Regions from separate parts of the Homo sapiens genome. Here region 1 is linked to region 2. Evidence: promoter capture Hi-C in 16 types of primary human blood cells and fetal thymus (Javierre and others, 2016). All regions are on one chromosome and are shown on one strand. Each heading gives the region's core, a stretch centred on a gene start or on the middle of the fragment in contact. The rest is flanking DNA. Distances are from core to core; before and after follow the strand shown.

Region 1 (5,646 bases), core at 1,143-3,642, about 30 Mb before region 2:
GTGTGGGGAGTTTGTGTGCCATTTTATCCCTTTATTTTTGTCATCCATTTTATTCAATACTTTCGTTGGTGCCTGATGTTTTTGATAGAAAAAGCAAATAAAAGAGTAAGCAGCAAATGTGAGTTAAAAAAATTTTTTTTTTGAGACAGAGTCTCGCTCTGTCGCCCAGGCTACAGTGCAGTGGCGTGATCTCGGCACACTGCAAGCTCCTCCTGCCGGGTTCACGCCATTCTCCTGCCTCAGCCTCCCCAGCAGCTGGGACTACAGGCGCCCGCCACCACACCCGGCTAATTTTTTGTATTTTTAGTAGAGACGGGGTTTCACCGTGTTAGCCAGGATGGTCTGGATCTCCTGACCTCGTGATCCGCCCGCCTCTGCCTCCCAAAGTGCTGGGATTACAGGCATGAGCCACCGCGCCCGGTCGACAAAAATTTTCTTAACATGAATGCGTGAAGTAAGGCTGTTTGGAATTTAGAAAAGTTGCAATTTTTGATGGAGAGAAAACCAAGAAGGAGTTGAGTGATGGCCGAGGGAGTGGACAACCTCCTACTGCCAGGGCCTCTACTCCTGAACTGTTATGAGGTTGCCTGATTCCTCTTAACAACCCTTCAGGTTAGGGGCCAGCTGTTAACTTAATTTTATTACCAGGGAAGAAACTGAGGCTCAGATAAAGTTCTTTTATCCCACAGGCACACAAACTGCTAACTGATAGAGCCAGATCCAGCCATGTCTGGCTACAAAGCCTGTGTACTTTAACTTCTACAGAGAGTATGTGCGAGGTGAACCAGTAAAAATAACAATAACAAGTGCAATACTAAGAATAGTAATAATGATAGTTAACACAGTGCTTTACATGTGTGATCGCTTTGAACAGGATTAAGTGAACACATGAATAGGACTGGCAGGGAGTCTTTCTACTCTTCATTAGCGAAACAGGAGAGGACATATACAGTACTTAGGATTTCCACTGGCTTACTTTGTTTTCTGAAAAATAACTGAAAGGCTCAATTAGTTTTGTTTTGTCGCATTTATCAGATTATAACGTTCTGGATGTGGGTCTGGATGTGGGTAGTTGGGCTGGTGTGGGATTACATGAAATCAAACCTGATATATTCAGAAAGATTCTTCCGGTGGACACATATGCCTTTTGGGTTCGATATTCAATTTTGTAATTAGTGATCACTGTTCCTATTTATTTATTTATTTATTTGAGACGGAGTTTCGCTCTTATTGCCCAGGCTGGACCACAATGGCGCATTATCGGCTCATCACAACCTCCACCTCCCGGGTTCAAGCGATTCTCCTGCCTCAGCCTCCCCAGTAGCTGGGGTTACAGGCATGTACCACCATGCCCGGCTAATTTTGTATTTTTTAGTAGAGACAGGGTTTATCCATGTTGGTCAGGCTGGTCTTGAACTCCCGACCTCAGGTGATCCGCCCACCTAGGCCTCCCAAAGTGCTGGGATTACAGGCGTGAGCCACCGCGCCCGGCCTGAATGGGAGTTTTTAATCCGTACTTTTTTCTTATTGAAGTTGAATGTCATATACCCCTCTATTTCCCTAGATGAATCCATGAAAGAAGTATGTTGCCCTCTATATGAAAAAGCAAGCTTGTCTTCTGCAGAAAATCAGTAACCACTCCTTTTTACACATAAATACCCCCAAATGAATCTCCGATGACTGATCTGATACTAGTCTGCAATTCTAGTTTTAGCATTAGGCTCACTCCTCATATTTGGGAGAAGATGTCCAATTCTGTAGTAATGTGTAACATAAAGTGGTGTCAATTTATAAATAATATCTTCTAATGAATTAATGCTCATTTGCAATGATCACTTCCATACAAATTTAGGTAAAGATGTTATTCAGAATTGGATTCTCTCTATTTAAAAATGTCATCCTAATGTGCAACTCCCTAAAACTGTTACTACAAACAACTATTTTGCCACTCAGCCTAAAAATAAAACCTTTCACCCAAATGACACATCTTAATAGCCATATTTTAATCTACGTAATTTTAAACTATTCTGAAAGAATCCATTTCTAGATGTCAGACAAGAGTTGAAACTGGGACAGCAGTTTGAAGGGGCTAATTTAAAAACCCACTTGCTTGGAGACACCTCAAGAATTTCTAGGCTCACAAGGTGGGTGAAGTAAGGAAAGAGACTAAGAGCTGAACAGTGCCGTTCTTTGCGAGCCCCCACTGGCGCAGGCTGAGCCGGCTGCGGCTAGGGCTGCGAAGAGTTAACGAGGGACCGAGCCCCAGCGCCGCGGGCTCCCCGCATGCTCCCTCCGCCCTCCCGTCCCCACCCTCTCGTTTTGGCAAGGGATTAAAGTGCTCCCCCCTGTGGCAGCAGTGACCCAGAAATGAGTTTGATTCACATAGTCCTTCCTCCATAACAAGCCAAACGCCAGACCGAGAGTGCCTCCGTGCGCGAGTGCCCGGTGTGTGCGCGCCGGCGAGAGCAGGGGCCCGCCCGGCTCCCCGCCCGCCGCGGCCCGAACTCATGCAGCTCCGAGCGAGCGAGCGGCGCCCAGCCCAGCGCCTCGGCCGAACCCCTCCGCAGCAGGTACGCGCGCGGGCCGCGGGGGGCGCGCGGGGTGGGCGCGCCGCGCGTGTGTCCGCGCGTGTCCGCGTGTGGGTCCGTGTGCGCGTCCCGGTCCCGCGGCGGCGACGGCGGCGGCGGCGGCGGCGGCTGCAGGACGAGCCGAGAGGCTCAGCCATATTTGATGGTTTTGTTGCTTTGCTCGGGAGTTCTCGGGAGTAATTTAATGCCGAAGGTCGCTGCCTAGTGGAAATAATATAATACGTCATTAATATGGCGCCAAAAGATTGGGTTCTCGATCTGTAGCGAGGAGGGAGGGAGGCAGCCGCTGAGCGCAGCGTTACTATCCCACCAGTAACTTGGGCATTGCCGGGGCGGGGGCCGGAGGAGGAGGAGAGGATGATTTTTGGATCCTGAGAATTGATCTATGTTGGATCAGTAAGTTTTATTATGATTTTTTTTTTCAAATTTGGGGGGCTGAAGACTTAGAGCTATTTCTTCTTTTGGATTTGCGAAGAACATGCGGTTTTCAGGTGAATCATCAATTAAACGCGTTTAGGAGCAGAAGCCCAGTTTAAGTTGGCTTTAGTTTATAGGTTTTTTTTTTTTTTTTTTTTTTTTAGAAAGCCAAAGTGCATTAGGCTGCATGAAAGTGGAAAGCATAGTAGCAACTTGGTAGACAGATGGCAATGGCAGAACGCAGGTTCGCGTACATATATGAATCCAGAGTGTGTGAGACCGTGTGTGTGGTGGGACTGTATTTGTCCAAACATAGGTGTGCGTAGGTACATCTGTGTGTGGTGGCCGCAGCCCTGGCTCTTGTCACCGCGTCACCACATGTCCAAAATATTCATTGCATCAATTCAAGGGCAGTGAGAGGGGGGTGGGGGTGGGGGTGGAGGGACAGTTTGGCAATTAGATTCTTCCGAACTGGGCTTCCAGTGATCAGATCTTTTACTTACAGCGCGACTGCTTGTAAAGTGTAAAACCCCTTAATCGATGAAATGGGGTAGGAGTTGGCGTTGGTAGAGCAAAGTACCGATTAATCGTGAACTTAAAGGGGATTGCAAATTGCAACCTTTGGCACCATCTGCAAATTGTGGGGGTGGGGTCTCTTGGTCTCCTTGCTTCCTTAAATGAACGTGTAGTGTGTACCCCGGGACTGCAAGTTGCAGAGCCCTTCAGTGCACGTGTCTTGTGCCTGTGAGTCTGTGTTTGCGAGTTGGGGGCTGTTGTTCGGTAGCCAGCAGGCTTTCCGGGTTGCTCGGCATTGGCTTGCAAATGCGGGAGAGGGATGGAATGTGGAATGTTGACCGGGGAACCGAATCCTGTCGGAACGGTCCCATTTGCTGGAGAAATTCGATCCCTTCCACCTCCTTCCCGCTCCCCCCCGCCCGCCTTCGGGCAGGAGGCGGGGCTGAGGACGCGGCTGCTGCTCAAAGTGGCGGAGCGCGGCGGCGGGAGGCAGGTGCACGGCACCCGCCAGTGGGGGTGCCTCAACTTCCGCGGGCGTTTAAATAGCAGCCTCTCTCCCCTCCCACCGGTAATAGGTGACCTGGCGGCCGAGGGCGGCGGGGGAGGGAACCGGGGGAGACTCGGGAGCGAGCCTCCGCGGCACGTGGGCAGGTGCTGGGTGGCCCCGGGGCCAACTTTTGTAGCCCGCCTCTGGTGTTTGAGGAGAGGCGGCCCAGTGTGGAAATGGGGGCGGGCGGCGGCCGAGGCGCTGCTTCTCCGCTGCGGCCGGAGCGTCACCTAACGGTCCCAGCTGCGCCGCCCGGGCCGGGGTGGGGGGTTGCGGGGGCGGGGACGCCCGGCCCGCCGCGCCCGCCCCGCACAAAGCCCGCGGCGCGGGGGTGGCCGCTGCGCCCCCGCCCCGGGAACGGCCCGAAGCCCGACGCGGTCCCCGCGCCGGTTCCGGCGGGCGGCCGCAGGCGTTTGTTTGTTGGTTCCGCGCCGCCTTCCTCGCCGGATGGCTTCCTGTGACAGAGGTGATACACAGTTTCCAGAACTGTCTGGGGGCGGGAGCGGGAGCGGGAGCCGAGCCCGCTCGGAGCTCCTCGCCGCCGCTGCCGCTCCCATCTTAAAACCGTTTCTCGCCGGCGCGCCCGCCCCAGCCCGAAGGTGCCGCCCCGGAGGGACTCGGGGAGGGGGACGGCGCGGCCGTTTCCAGCGGCGCAAGTGGCTTCTGGACGCGAGGGAGCGTTTGATTTGCAACTGGGGCCGAGCGGATTGGTGCAGCTGGCGGCGGCGGGGCGGGAGGAGCTGCCGCGGCGGGGGGTGGCCACTTTCAAATGGAGAGGGCGGCGGCGGCGGGGACGCCGCTGCGGAGGGAGCGGGGCTTGGTTGCGCCACGAGAAGGTGTCATCACTGCACCGGGGCTAATTCCGGCGGAGGTGCCGGGAGTTACTTTCCCCTCCTCCCGCGCTGTTGTTTCTGTCGCCTCGGGAGGAGGAGGAGGAGGAGGATTGGGAGAGAGGGAGGGGTCGGCGCCGCGCGGAACCGCGGCCCTGCGCATTCCCCGGCGGGCGGCGGGAGCCGCGCGGAGCGTTCGCCGCTGCGGGGCGGCGGCCGAGCTCCCCCACAACCCCGGGGTGCCCCCCTTGCTGGGATCCTTAGCCTTCTCACGTCCCCTCTCACTCCGCCACCCTCCCACTAGAGCTCCTTATTCTCGAGTCCTCAACCCCGGCTTGGCGCGTCCCGGGTCTCCCCTCGCCCCAGGATTCCTCCCGCGCCAGGCTCCGCTGGCCCCAGGTTTCCCACCCCAAGCGGGTGGGGGCGGCCGCAGTCCCGGCGCCGGTGAATGCTGAGAGCAAACAAAAAAGCGGGCGATTTAAACATGCCTTCGAAACCCGTTAGGAATGCGTCGTCATCCGGAGACCGTTTAAAAGGAGCTTTAGCTTGCCTTCTAGTAACGAGAGGGCTGGCGCCCTGCCTTACTTCGGCAGGGGCGAGGGGCTGTCGCCCTCTATTTGCCCCGGCCAAGAGGGAATTTAAATTTTCTTTTGTAAAATGACAGCTGCAGTGAATGACCTGAGACAGCTACGTTTTTAGGAAAGTAGGAGAGGATCTGAGGTTTCCATTAATGGGAATGCTTAGGGGG
Region 2 (5,691 bases), core at 1,498-3,997:
TTACAGGTGTAAGCCACTTTGCCTGGCCAGACTATTCAATTTGTACTCTCTTTTTATAAAACAGAAAACAGGCTCAGAGAGGTTAAGTTTCCTCTCCCAGTTTTCTCCCCGCAACCAGGGACACAAGTGAGATAATGTATGTAAAAATCTCATACAAATACAAGGTAACATGAACTACTTCATGTATCCATTTAATACCTATTTGTTGGCTGCCTGTCTTGTGTTGAGGATATAGCAGTAAATAAAAGGGACAAACATCCCTGACTTAGAAGCTTACATTACAGTGGAGGGATAAAACAATAAATAAAATAAATAAGTATAGATGGTTCTCAATTTACGATGGTCAATAAATTGACTTTCGATTTTTCCACTTTATAATGGGTTTATCAGGGTATTAAATGCATTTCTGACTTACAATATTTGCGACTTACAATGGTTTCTCAGGATGTAACCCCATCCTAAGTGGGCAAGCACCTGTACAATATACAGTATGTTAGGTGGTAAGTAAAGCGACGAAGATAACCAGAGTGTATGGAGTTACAGGGAAGGTGACATTCAAATGAAGATATGATGACAATGAGGAACAACATTCTATATTTTGGTTGTTGTGTGTGTGCATTTTTCTTTTTGTTTTTTGTTTTTGTGGGTGCAAGTGGGGTGGGGAGAGGGGGAGAGATAATCCAGGCAGTAGAGGGAACAGCAGATGGAAAGGTCATGAGACTGGAATTTGCTGTTTCAGAAACAACATGGAGGCTAATGTGCTTGGGAACAGAATAGTAGAAGAGGTCAGAGAGATAAAGGTCCATAGGATATTCAGGCCATGGTAAGACTTTGGCTTTTACCTTGAGTGGTATGAGGAGCTAAGCAGAGGAATGATTTGAGAAGGAGTGAAAAGAATTCACACTTTGGCTGCTGTGTTGGAAATGAACTGTATGGCAAGCAAGGTTAGAAAGAGGGGGACCAGGTGGGTGGTTATGACAAAGTGCTGGCCAGACATGATGCTGGATTGCACCAGGGTCATGGCAGTAGAAGTGGTAGATAAAGGTTAGAGTTCAGATATGGCATTCTGGAGGTTGAGCTGACGATTTTTACTGACACTTTTGAGGTATAACAGAAAGAAAGGAGTCAAGGAAGTCAACGTTTTCACCCAGGAAGTGAGAATGGTGTAGATGTGATTAACAGAGGATGGGGAAGGCTGTGGGTGTCTGAGACAGGAGATCTGGAGCCTGGTTTGCACATGTGAATTCTGAGATGTCTATTAGACACCAGGTGGAGATGTCAGTTATATTTTTTCACTTCATTGGGTTTGAATTCTTTTATCTGCCTCTCTCCTTTTTTCAGAGCTGTATTGGCACTTATTCATGTTCCTTTGCTTTCAAGGTAGTGGCCTATGTCATAGAGAATTTGATGTTGGCGCTCAACTAAGAGGTGAAAGAGAAATATAGAGAAGCAGTTCCAGCAAGAGTAATATAAAAAGGTCTACAGATACAATTTGTAACTCAGATTCCCTTTCACAAGGTTGGGCAGGGACAGTCCCTTTGCTAGGAAGTCACACAAGCTGTTTAGTGCACACAGGTGACTTAAGGAACCCCAAAATGTTAGCTGACAATCTATTCCAAGTGTTTAAACTAGATGTTGAAAATCATGTTTGAAAAGTTCAACGCAGTAGCTCATACATAAAACTCATTGTGTCTATAGATATCAAAATAAGAACTTGTGGGGGGTGGGGGCAAACAAAAATAAATCCCTGGGACCAGAACAGCAGAGTGGTCCCCGATGCTTGGGCTGACCTTAACACACCTCTACGTGGCCGGGGCAAGGAGTGGGGGGGAGCTGAGGGAATCAGCAGGAGCGGTGACATCTTGAAGGACGAGGTATTGTTTCTGCACCATGTGGGTCCGGTTTGGAAATTTGAGCATCTAGAGGAGGAGGCTTGTTCTGTCCAAGGCAAAGCCAGACCTACCAATAAATGTTTCTGATTATGTCACAGAACTTGCCATCCTGGTCTGTCGCTAAGGAGTGATCAACTTTAAATCTGGAGTGTTTGTTGGTCTAGGGGTGGTAGTGGGTCTGGTGTTGAAACCTCTCTGCCTAATTTCGTGGTCATTTTACTGTCTGAGGTGCCAGAGTGGGCTTGGAAAGCAGGGGAGGGTGCAGCAAATTACAAATAAGCAAAATAAATCCTAAGAGGATTTATCGCCACAGAAGCAACTCGGACGCAACTCTTGGGCTCAAAAAGAATGCCCAGTACAGCCCGGGCTGGTGGGCCGGTCTTTTGCCCAAGGTTAGCTTTCAGCCCCTGGGCGGCGGCGTGGCGCCAGGAGCGGGCGGGGAGCAGCGACCCGACGCGGCTGGGTCTCCTAGTAGGGCGCGTCGGGTGTGGGGAGGGGGCGCGGCGTGAGACAGTGGGGGACACTGCGTGAGGAAAGCCCTGCGCTTCTCTCCGGGGCACCAGGACTTGCGCCCCCTCTTCGGGTCCAGGCCGCGCGCGGGACCCGACAGCCCGGCCGAGGGCTCCGCGACCCACTTGCGGCCAGAGCGCTGCTCACCTGGGCGCCGCCGAAGGTGCCGCTCAGACGCGAGGGCGCGGCCGCTGGCGGGCGGGGAGCGGGGAGGCGGGACCCGGCGCGACGGGGCTGCCCCGCCCCCCGATGATGCGGCGGCCGCCGACTCGCCCCCACGCTGTCACTCATTCCTCACCATGGTTGCAGCACAAAGCAACAAGCCCCAGAGGCCGCTTCCTCCCTGAGGAGCGGCTCCGGCGGCCGGAGAAGGCGCAGGAGGAGGAAGAGGCGGAGGAAGAGGAGGGGAATCGCCGCTTCCCAAACACTCTCTCCGAGGGGGCTGTGCGCGGCTCTCGGCTTTCGGCCCTCGGACGCCCGCGCCGGGAGTCCGAACCCGGGCTGTCCGCGGCCCCCTCTTCCCCCTCCTCCGCCCCGCGCAGACGAGGAACAAAGTTGCCGAGAGCGACTGGGCCGGAGGGCTGCAGCCCGGGCCGGGTGCTCTGGCCGCGGCGGCGCCGGCGCCGGGGCAGCTCCGCTCCGGGCGCGCTGATGGGGGGAGGCGGCGGCGGCGGAGCCCACAGCGGCGGCCCGAGCAGCAGAGGCGGCGGCGGCGGCGGCTGGGCGGCCCGAGGGGATGCAGCAGCAGTCGGGAGGGACGGCCGAGCCCAGTAGACAGAGACCAGGAGCGGCGGCCGAGGCGATCGGGCTTCGCAGCGCCCGGACCTGAGCCAGACCCACCTGGTCCGTCCTCCCGACCGGCGGCCGAGGCGCCCGAGGACTGGGGACGCGGAAGATCCAAGTGATTCTCGGAGACCCCTGGGCGGCGGCTGCGCAAGCCCCTGAGAGGAGGGGGCGACCCTCAGCGCCGTGGGGGAGGAGGCTCCGCCTGCCCACAGCCCTCCCCACTGCCACTCGTACCTCCCTAAAAATAACTCGGGCCCGCTGGGGCCAGGAGGAGCCGCCACTGTCCCCCGAGTGGAGCCGGGGAGGCGTGTCGAGCCAGGGCCGGAGGAAGCCGGCGGAGCGGCGAGGAAGAGGAGGAGGAGGAGGAAGGGGAGTTCCGCCTGCGGGCCGCATCGCACGGCAGCCTAGGGGCGCCGCGACCCTCCCGGCTGCGTCCAGCCCCTCGCGCCTGTACCGCGCTCTCGGCCGCCGGGCCCAGCCGAGCCGCCCCCCCGCGGGCCCCGCGCCGCCGCCGCCGCGGTTTGGCTGATTAGTCGCGGGCGGGCGGGCGGGCGCAGCGCGCAGGGCGGAGGCAGCAGCGGCGCTGGGCCGGGAGGAGGCCGGCCAGGGTGCGGAGCGGCCCCGGCCCGCTCCCAGAGGGGAGATGGCGTCCTACGTAGATAACAGCTTCCGCCAGGCGGTGATGAAGAATCCCCCCGAAAGGACCCCCCAGGTGAGAACGCGGCGGCCGCCTGCCCTTGGCCGGATTTCTGCCTCGCAGGCTGCGTCTTCCCCTGTCCCCCCACCTCCTTCCTGACACAGTTCGCCCCGAGCACCCCACTTCTTGCATCAGGACCCCCAACTTCCAAAGGCATCCCACCTCCGAGTCTTTTACTCCGCCTATCCTGGTTTTATTTTTCCCTCTCCTTGACATTCTGCTCCTTAACTCTTCCCTCCCCATGACTGACCTTTCCCACTATGTTGCCCAGCCGAGAGAGAGAGAGAGAGAGAGAGAGAGAGAGAGAGAGGGAGAGACAGAGAGAGAGAGAGAGAGAGTGTGTGTGTGTGTGTGTATGTGTGTGAATGTGTGAATTCTCTAGCTTTCCCTCTCCCCAGCCGCCCTCCGTGGCCTCTGAATCTCAGGGGATGGAGTCTCATCTCCCCTCGGGCAGCGACTCTTGCTCCCTCTGACTCCAGATCCGTTCCTCCCCTTGCAAGTGACCCTTGGAGTTCAGTGGTGTTTGAAAGGTATAGGAGGAAACCTGTACGGTTGTGCTAAAGACAAATCCATGCTGACCTTCAGTAAAACATTGAGGTGTTTGTATGTTTACTGTTTTGCTTTTATTTTTTAAAGGATACTGCTTTCAATTGAAGGGAAAAAAAGTTGAATAGCTAAGTTAGTGCTTTTAGTTTAAATTGCAGACATAGCTGCAGAGCAGGCATGTTCCAGTACACCCTCGGGAAGGGCACCCTGCGGATTCTTTTGGTGTTGCACAACCTTGTCAAAATTAGATAAGTTTGTTAACCTTTATACATTTGTTTACCTGCAGGCTTACTCTTCTCTTACTTATAGCGGCTGATAGGGTTGGATTTGGTTGTCTCAAGTTTTACTGGAGAGGGGGAAATTTTATAAAAATGTGGTAGCTTAATTTTCTCCGCCTTTAGTTGCTGACTGGATAATGACGCATATTCCTAAGCGTTGGGATGGTGACTATAGGAGATCCTGCCTGCCAACCCTCTTAAGACAAATAAGCCCTCCTGATCCTTGGGACCATCAGACATTTAGGATCTAATGCTTGAAAGTGTTGCTTCGCTTGTTAGATGTTGGATGCCATCTGTTCAAATCCAAATGCTCTCCTTCTCTGATGTTGATTATTATTTACTGTGGGGAGAGCATAATAAAATAGACTCTTCCCCTGGCTGCCTTTGGACAAGCCCCAAGAGTGGCACCTGGTACCGTTTTTGATTTTTCATTTTCCTTGATGGAGCTGTCACATCTGGGAGATCATGGATAGATTGCACATATTTATCAAACGTGTGGAAGATGGCTGTAATTTTACAAGAAAATTTATCTGTCTCCAGAAAGTTCCCATTCTAAAAGACTATTTTTATCCCAACAAGGAATGTCCTGCATTGATCTTGTTCTTCTCTTGGTGTTGCACACGCTGCCTTTCCTATGCCTTTCTCATCTATTTGTTTTAAAATGGTCAGTTGGATCAGTCTTCTGCATCTGAAAATGCACATTCCCTGTCTCAGTGTGAAGGAAAAGCAGATTTCAGTGAGATATTTCATTTCCTTTCAAGAATATTGTTTTAAGTGCCAAGTGAAATTACGCATGCTGAGAATATTAGAACCTAGCAAGGCTGGTCAGAAAATGATGTCAGAGGCCTTTGGTGGAAATTAGAGAAGGGGGAAGTGGTGCATTTGGTTGATTAGTTAGAAGAATAACAATGACTAAAACCTACTATCAGGTTGGGGGGCGGGTCACCAAACAAGACTAGAAGAGACAAAACCTCCACTGTGA

The links. Contacts are between HindIII fragments. The CHiCAGO score rates a contact against its expected background, and 5 or more counts as called.
Region 1: the fragment with the promoter of JADE1 here is called in contact with the fragment with the promoter of RAPGEF2 in region 2 in 1 of 17 cell types (total CD4 T cells); the score reaches 6.5 in total CD4 T cells.

Annotation. Positions count from the first base shown.
Region 1 is chr4:128,807,308-128,812,953 of GRCh38, forward strand. JADE1 (jade family PHD finger 1) reads left to right here and starts at 2,393. Exons shown (of 11, transcript NM_199320.4): 1 at 2,393-2,570. RefSeq lists silencers at 2,216-2,695, 3,206-3,325, 3,956-4,235, 4,356-4,455, 4,636-5,205 and an enhancer at 2,796-2,905. The HindIII fragment of the contact is 6,052 bases long and covers 1,609-5,646 here.
Region 2 is chr4:159,100,332-159,106,022 of GRCh38, forward strand. It overlaps RAPGEF2 (Rap guanine nucleotide exchange factor 2), which reads left to right and starts at 2,748. Exons shown (of 30, transcript NM_001394067.2): 1 at 2,748-3,900. The coding sequence starts at 3,832. RefSeq lists an enhancer at 1,898-2,589 and silencers at 2,238-2,777, 2,908-3,127, 3,168-3,457, 3,206-3,500, 3,468-3,887. The HindIII fragment of the contact is 5,553 bases long and covers 271-5,691 here.